3 separate regions of the Homo sapiens genome follow, and all the other regions are linked to region 3. The links are contacts of gene promoters, found by promoter capture Hi-C in blood cells and fetal thymus (Javierre and others, 2016). All regions are on one chromosome and are shown on one strand. Each heading gives the region's core, a stretch centred on a gene start or on the middle of the fragment in contact. The rest is flanking DNA. Distances are from core to core; before and after follow the strand shown. Region 1 holds the start of GSTM4 (glutathione S-transferase mu 4). Region 2 holds the start of EEIG2 (EEIG family member 2). Region 3 holds the start of CFAP276 (cilia and flagella associated protein 276).

What was found. The method cuts DNA at HindIII sites, captures the fragments that hold promoters and counts their contacts. A CHiCAGO score of 5 or more calls a contact.
Region 1: the fragment with the promoter of GSTM4 here is called in contact with the fragment with the promoter of CFAP276 in region 3 in 3 of 17 cell types (monocytes, M2 macrophages and neutrophils); the score reaches 6.3 in monocytes.
Region 2: a contact is called between the fragment with the promoter of EEIG2 here and the fragment with the promoter of CFAP276 in region 3, in 7 of 17 cell types (naive CD8 T cells, naive CD4 T cells, activated CD4 T cells and 4 more). The highest score is 9.4, in naive CD8 T cells.

The regions. Positions count from the first base shown.
Region 1 is chr1:109,654,849-109,657,348 of GRCh38, reverse strand. GSTM4 (glutathione S-transferase mu 4) reads right to left here and starts at 1,250. Exons shown (of 8, transcript NM_000850.5): 1 at 924-1,250; 2 at 562-637; 3 at 70-134. The coding sequence starts at 959. RefSeq lists enhancers at 24-609, 1,483-1,532. The HindIII fragment of the contact is 5,301 bases long and covers 1-2,500 here.
Region 2 is chr1:108,558,601-108,561,371 of GRCh38, reverse strand. It overlaps EEIG2 (EEIG family member 2), which reads right to left and starts at 1,272. Exons shown (of 11, transcript NM_001010883.3): 1 at 807-1,272. The coding sequence starts at 943. RefSeq lists enhancers at 69-118, 582-681 and a silencer at 1,072-1,611. The HindIII fragment of the contact is 6,399 bases long and covers 1-1,497 here.
Region 3 is chr1:109,111,431-109,114,130 of GRCh38, reverse strand. CFAP276 (cilia and flagella associated protein 276) reads left to right here and starts at 1,384. Exons shown (of 5, transcript NM_001245025.3): 1 at 1,384-1,532. The coding sequence starts at 1,452. ELAPOR1 (endosome-lysosome associated apoptosis and autophagy regulator 1) reads right to left here and starts at 16. Exons shown (of 22, transcript NM_020775.5): 1 at 1-16. RefSeq lists a silencer at 195-264. The HindIII fragment of the contact is 3,574 bases long and covers 1-2,321 here.

The DNA of each region.
Region 1 (2,500 bases), core at 1-2,500, 540 kb before region 3:
TGGGGAGAGGAGATGCAGTCAGAGACACGTCGCACTTTCCCCCAAAACCGCCCCTTCCCCTGCACCTACATTGGGAAAGTCCAGGCCCAGCTTGAATTTTTCATTCAGCCACTGGCTTCTGTCATAGTCAGGAGCTGCCGTGGGGAAGAAGAAGTGAAAACAAACCTCCCCAGAGCCCAGCCCTCCTTCCCGGGGACCCTCCCAAGGAACCAGTGGCAAGATCCCTGAGACAGGTGGATCTAGAATCTGACCACTCAGTCCCACATCCCAGGGTTCAGGGACAAAGAATCCCGCTGAGGGCTCTGGACCCCACACGGCTAAGGCTTCCAGGGTTTAGGGAAGCTCTGAGGGACACCCAACCCAATTAAACAGGGGGCCCAGCATCCCGCCCCAGCATTCTGCCTTGCAAGGCCACAGGACTCCCTCACCGGGGCTCAGGGAAGGGACAGCCTGCAGCTCCAGCAGGGGAGGCCTGCAGAGGTAGCCACAGGTGGCCACCATGGGTTGCTTGGTGCCAACTCAGCGTGAGTGGGCAGAGCCCGGACACAAGGGTGTCATTACCGTCCCCCATCGTATACTTCTTTTCCTCGTAGCTTGAGTCTGTGTATTCCAGGAGCAGGCGGATGGCGTGGGCCAGCTGGAAGAGATGGCCCGCAGGTCGTGTCAGAGATGGAGGGTCCCTGACTTGGTGACTTTCTCTGCACCAGGTGAGCCCCTAGTCTACACTGCACTGCACCCCCCCCCCACCCCGGCGCACGCACACACACACACACACACACACACACACACACACACACAGGCATGCACAGGCCCTCCTGTGAGAGATAGCCCTAAGGAGGGAACCGTCCCTAGAGCCGGTCCCCAGCCGCTCGGCACTTCCCGCCCACGCGCCCGGTCCCACAGTGCAGCGGACCCTCACTCACCCCGCGGATGTCCCAGTACCCCAGTGTCATGGACATGATGCTGGTTGGTGTCGATTCTGCAGACAGGCCTCAGCTGGGCTGAACTGCGACCTCCTCTGGGGTTCCCGGCACGCAGGGGCTGGACCTAGCGCCAGACCCGCCCCCTCGGCCCCGCTGCGCCCGCCGATCTTCAAGGTCGTCACTTCCAACCGGCCGATCTTCAAGGTCGTCACTTCCAACCAACAGGCGCGGGAGGCACGGAGCAGGTTGCTGGATCCTCACTGGCTGGAAGGAGTAAGATCCACCGCCACCTCCGAGTGTTCAGGGAGCAAGGTCCGGAAGCACTAGGAGGGGCTCGGCCTCGCCAGCTTCCGTAGCCCCGCCCCGCCCCGCTCCGCTTCGGACCTCTGCTGGGTCCCCAGGGACTCGGCTGTGCGCGTGAGAGTAAAGCCAGATCGTAAGAGAAAAGTTCTTCCCCCGTTTCTTCTTCTCCGGACGTCGCCCAGCCTTCTGCCTCTCGGCTGCCGAGTTCCCACAGGCTCTGGGAGACTGAGGCTGCCAGGGTCAGACTAAAGAGAGGTCTCAGAGAGTTTAATTCAACACTTCTTGGCTACTAAGTCTTAGAAGTCTGATGGTGTGCTCTCTCTGCTGAGTTGGGGAGCGTGAATGGAGGCTATGTCACCGAAGCTGATAGAGCTCAGTCTCTGTTGCAGATGCTCCCGACCCTTTTGCATTGGGCCAGTTCCCCAGCTCTGAGACTGGGTCCAGGCTCAGGAAGTGGCCTATGTGTCAAGGTGGATTCCCATGTAGGTTTGCCTACAGCAAGACGATAGCACCATGCACACACAAGTGCTTGGACTTCTGAATAGTTATACTTCTCATTATACATTAAGACATTAAGAATGTGTCATTCTGAGTCTTTTTTTTTTTTTTTTTTTTGGAACGGGGACTCGCTGTGTTGCCCAGGCTGGAGTGCAGTAGGGCGATCTCGGTTCATTGCAACCTCCGCCTCCCGGGCTCAAGCGATTCTCCTGCCTCAGCCTCCCGAGCAGCTGGGATTACAGACGAGCGCCACGACGCCCTGCTAACTTTTTTGTATTTTCTGTAGAGATGGGATTTCACCGTGTTGACCAGACTGGTCTTGAACTCCTGGTCTCAAGTGATCCACCCGCCTCCGCCTCCCAAAGTGCTGGGATTACAGGCATGAGCCACGGTGCCTGGCCTGTCATTCTGAGTTTATCCATCTTGAGCTGGGAAAGATAAAATGTCTAGGTCCAATTGTGAAGATGATTTTTTAAGAAAGCTAACACTTATGAGAATAATTATGAAAGAAACAGAATTGATATTGTTACATTAGTATTCACCCATTTGGTCATTCCTTTATTGAAACAACAGTTGTTGAGATCCTACCATATTCCAGGCACTGGGAATAAAACAATCCTTCAAAAACACTGTACTTTGGCCACCTACGACTAGAAGTCAGGTGGGAACTACAGGGGAGAGATTTTGAAAATACGGGACACTTCTTACTGTTTTTGCACACTGAGAGGCAGTGGAGTGGGAGAGGGGTTGAGTGTAGGAGAGAGAAGCGGTGCCTG
Region 2 (2,771 bases), core at 23-2,522, 550 kb after region 3:
ATTTTAAAGAAAGCACCTTAGGGTACATCTGTCAACCTGTGAGTAGCTCTGAAATTACTCAAGAAACACTGCCACACCTATTATTAATGCCACACCTATTATTTAATAGCTTCATTCTGTAACCTGCTAATGCCTCTCTCTGGGAGTGCCCAGGGGCTCATTTTAAAATGAGGGCAGGGCCTGGGCTCCCCATCTGGCTCTAAGCCCTCCCACAAGGAGACCTACTAGTGGCCACTTCAAGACTAATTCATCCAGCATTAGCGCCTAACTGGAGACGCCGCTCTCTGATGAGGCACAGACCGTTGTCTCGTCTGCCAGGAGCACTTGACTCAAGTCAAGCCTGGCCAGGCCTACCCCAGCCTCAGAGTGGGTGGCCAAGTCCCCTTGTAATCTACAAGGGAGAAGGAATTGTGCTAAGCACAGGTTTCTGTTCAGAGCTGGGCTCTTGGAACTCCTGCAGTTTGGGTTATTTTAGTTTTTAACAGCTCAAGTTCTACTTTGCATTTCACAAATATGGAAATGTCTTAAGAGAAAACAGAAGCATCCTCCCTCTCTGGCCATTGCTCCCATTCCTAGAGGATTTGGGAGGGAAGAGCAGATACCAGGCACCATCTGGAGTCAGGAGCGCAGGAACCAAGGCCAGCTGAGAAGAACCCATTTGCAAAGCACTTTGCAGATCAATAAATTCGACTGATTTTAGAGCGGTCCCTAGGGAAAGGCGAGCAAATGGGCCAAGGAGAGATGCTGCCCATCCAACAAGCCCTGGCCAAGCAGAAAGGGGCGAGGCGGCGCGGGAGGCGAGTTACCTGGAGGACTCGGCGGTGAAGCTGCCGCCGTCCAGCAGCCGCATCTTGCAGAAGAGGACCCCATTGACGAAGGGCACTGAGGAGAGCTCCTCGAGCTCGAAGTCCACCTTAAACTTAAACTTCTTCTTCTTCATCATCGTGAGAGCCAGGCGCCTGCAAGCTGGGCGCACGGCCGGGCGCCGCCGCCTCAGCTTGGCCGAGCCCCGGATCAGCCCAGCCCCATGGCCGGGGCCGCGAGCTGTGCGCGGGGGCGCGGCCGGGGGGCGCCGCAGGCCGGCCGCGGCCGGGGCCGCTGCCGCCGCCTCTCGCGGCAGCCTGGGCCGGAACGCGGCGGCAGCTGCGGCGCGGACCCCGACCGCCCGCGGGGAGCGGTCGTGCTGCAGCTCGCCCGGGGAGGTGAGCGCCCTTTTGGTGCTCAGCTCGCCGCCGCCGCCGCCGCCGCCTCCGCCGCCGCTGCCGCCCGTCTGGGAGTCGGGAGAGGCGAGGCTCGAGGAACCGCCGCCTCAGCGCCTCGGGGGTCGGGGGCGCCCCCAGCGGCCGCGGCCTGCAGCGCACGGCGGGGCGGAAGCCGGAGGGAGGGCGGGGACTTTGTGGGCGGGCGCGGGCTTGGCCGCGGACTCTAACCCGCGACGGCAGTTAGCACGTCACGCCTTTCTGGGGTTAAAAAAAGACAAACCCGACAGAGAAAGCTTCCTTCTACCGCTTCCTCTCCGCCTTTCTTTTCAGTTTTTGCACCGCCTCCTTTCTCCCCCACCCCCTCCAGTGGTTTCTTTCCTTTGGGTTTGAGAGCCATGGGTTAATAGAGGCAATTAAAATCTCAGCGTTGTTTTGGTCAAATTGAAATCCTAAAACTAAAATTTCCGTTAGGTACTCTAAATTCACGAGCCTTCAAATATAAAAGGAAGATAAGGTAGGAAAAAGGAAAATGATGTGCTGAGGGACTATCAAGGGCCCAGGCACCGTACTGCTGCAGGCGCTTTCTCTGGGGTATAGCTTATCTAGTTCCTGTCACCCAGGACAAAAGATAAAAGAGCAAAGAAGCAGTTAAAATAATACCCTCCCTTTAAAAATTTGTCTGTCTATACTGAGAACTGAAATGCTTAAAATCAAATTCTGCAGGCAGTCTGGCATGGCTACGCTGTAATCCCAGCTACTCGGGAGGCTGAGGAGGGAGGTTAGCCTGAGCCGGGGAAGCGGAGCTTGCAATGATCGGAGATCGCGCCACTGCACTCTAGCCTGGGCAACAGAACAAGCCCCTGTCTTAAAAACAAAACAAAATCTTCAGAGCAGGCTTAAAAAAAAATCTCCCTAGGGGAATAACAATTACCTGCCTTCTGTAATCATGCATGTATTGTTACAATGAATGTTACAAAGTTGGTTACGTGATGTTCATGTTTTTAAACTGAGTTATTGTCATTTTCACTCAGATTCTGCCACAGTAATTCTGAAAGGGTTTAATTGAAAATATTTTCTTTCTCAGTTTACTCGTTTACTCATTCATTCATATAAAAAAATTGCTTAAAATGTCAATCATCGGCTAGACCCCATAACCAAAAGCCAATAACTGCCCTCAAGAATTTTACAATCTAGTGAGGAAGACATGTTTAGACAGGTCATTAAAAAAACACAACCTAGCACCAAGCTATGTAGAACTCAGAGAAGCAATTAATTGAAGTTAATCAGTTTTCTGAATTTCAAAGGATGAAAATGATTTGGGACAAAGTGGGGTAAGTTGTTCTAGGAGAAATAAATTAAAAAAAAAAAAAGATTCAGAGGCAGGTTCGGGGGTGGGGATTTGGTAATGGATAAAGCTTCTTACCCTGCAGGACAGGGGGCAAAGACAGTGAGATGCATTTGGGGACTTTGAGATTTGTCATTTAGAGCACTGGATGAATGTTAATTTCATTGACTGAACATTGAAAGCAAGAGGAGGGCAGGTTGGGAATGGAAGAGATAATGAGTCTT
Region 3 (2,700 bases), core at 135-2,634:
CTGCTGGCAGAAGGCGGAAAAAAAGGGGAGGGAGGTACACAGGCGGAGGATGCAAGAGGCCAGGCTCGCTTCAGTCACCTCCCTGCGGCTACGCCAACACCGCCCATCCTTCCTCCTCCCTCTGTCCTCTCCTCCTACCCACGTCGCCTTGACAACCGCCTCCTCTCTGGCTCCGCGCGGGTGGGGCAGGGACCACGCGCGCCTCTGCAGCTCACCTGCGGGTCGCCATGGCAGCCGCCGCCGCTGGTGCGCGCGGCGTGGGCGCGGGAGAGCGCGCGCCCGGGGTGCGCAACCGGCCCAACAGGCAGGCCCGGGGCTCGTGTGAAGAACACAGTGGAAGCATCCTCCAAGCCAGCCAACAAATTTCCGTTTTCTACTGCCCTTTCGGGCCAGGGGTTATTTTATGAGCATCTCCGATGTTGCACACGTGGCGTGTGAACCGAGAGAAAGAAGATGGAGAGATCACCCTCCAGACGTCGTCGCCTGGAAGAGGCCCCAGTACGTGTTCCCTCCTACGAAGGCCACTCCTGGAGATCTTACATCCCGCCAAATCCATCCGTGCTTTTACAACCGGCTAGAAGAGAAGCCCTGACACTGTAGTTGATCCGAGTTTAAGCGAGGAGTTTGCCTTAGCCGCAATTTCCCAAGCGCCGCACGTGGGCCTCTCTCTCTCTCTCTCTCTCTCTCTCTCTCTCTCTCTCTCTCTCTCTCTCTTTCTCTCTCTCTCTCTCTCTCTCTGAGACAGGGTCTCACTCTCTCGCCCACACTGGAGTGCAGTGGCGCGATCTCGGCTAACTGCAACCTCCGCCTTCCGGGTTCAAGAGATTCTCCTGGATTAGCCTCCCGAGTAGCTGGGACTACGGGCGCGTGCCACCAAGCCCAGCTAATTTTTTTCCTACTTTTTGTAGAGACGGGGTTTCGCCATGTTGCCCAGACTGGTCTCGAACTCTTGGGCTTAAGCGATCCGCCCGCCTCCGCTTCCCAAAGTGCTGAGATTACAGGCGTGAACCACCGCGCCCGGCCCTCTTTGGTCTCTTGACATCCTCATTCTCTCATGGCTTTGAAAGCCTTTTGTTAGGTGCGAGGGAGAAGGAAATTTCTGGGTCATCTTTCAGGACTTCTTTCCTCAACTGAAGTCTTTTGCAGAAGTCCTGATGGTGAGCAGCCAGCACTTTTCCGCCGAGGCTCAGGAGTGCAATTCCAAGTCTCGGGCCCGCTCAGCGGAACGTTCCCTCTGCAGTCCCCGGAGCTTCCTCCCCAGGGGCCTCCCGTGGTCAGCCGCCAGGTGGCGCCCTCCTCTGAGGGAATTCCTCTGTCATAGATGGCTGGGCAGTTGCCTGGCAACCGAAACCAGCGCTCCAAACAATTGGGACCCGGGATCTTATGCCAGTGAGGCTGTGCTGCGGCTGAGCGGGCCTCCCATCCCTCTTAAAAGAGTTAGGCATTTAGCCATGCCTCCCACCCGGGACCCTTTCCAGCAGCCTACATTAGATAACGATGATTCCTACTTAGGAGAACTGCGGGCTTCCAAGGTACTGTGGTTTCTTGCGCAGATTCCCAGTAGGGTCGCCGGTAGTCTTCTTTCTGTCTGTGTGATGAGCAGAGATGGTAACATAAAGGACTCTGGTGAAGACACTCAGTCGGGTACCAGGGAAGTCTGTTTTCTGCCTGCCTCCCTATCTCCATATTCAAGTCGGCTAACGTTTCAGAGGCGTTTTTGAGCAGAGGAAAGTAGAGTTCTAGTCTAGAGGAACAAGGGGCTCTGGCAGCTCAAATCAATTGTGAGTATAAGTTATGGCAGTGCCCAGGTTCCTTCAAGCTACCCATTTCCCTATTTGGAAGACTGTTCTCTGAAGAGAAATGAGATATGGAGTGGGAGAGAATCCTCTGAAAGCCACCAGAGGTCATGCTTTACACATCTGTGTTCACACTGTCTCTGTCTTCTGGTTAACACCACAATATGTTTGTTATGTGTGTGTTTAGCATGATGGTGGACACTGATTTCGGAACTTAGATGATCTTTTTTCTGGTAGAAGTGATTGGGATATATGAAGTGGTGCACAATAAGATGAATTAAGTGGTGATTGTGGTCTAATAACAATATTGAGAGCCCCTTTTTATTTATTCAATACTTATTTACTATAAGCCAGACACTCTGCTAAACGCCAAGGATATATAAATAAATTAGATGTAGCTTCTGCTGTCAAGGAACTCTAGTAGTAAAGAGAGACCGACAATAGCAAAAATGCTTGCACAATAGCACATGTTGTGACAGAGTTGTGTGCAGGGTGCCGTGAGAACCAGGAACTTAAAGGAAAGCTTCACAGAGCAGATGCATTTTGATGTCCAAATATGAGTTAGGTAGGCCAGGTGAGGGAGTGGATAGAATGTGAGTTAGGAAGAAGGAAACAGGAACCAGATATGCAAGGCAAAGGAAGCAGCAGGTGCAAATACATGGAAAGGAGAGAGAGAATGGCTTATTTGGGGAACTGCAAATAGTCTAGAAGGGCTGGAGTGTAGGCGTGCAATGGAAGCACTCAGAAATCAGAGCTGGAGAGATGCCCTTGGTTGGCTGGGTGTGCTGTGTACACCATGCTAGCTAGCTATGGTTTCATCCTAGGGATGTGAGGAATCATTGTGGGATATTTTTTTTTTTTTGAGACAGGGTCTCCTTGCTCTGTCACCCCAGCTGGAGTGCAC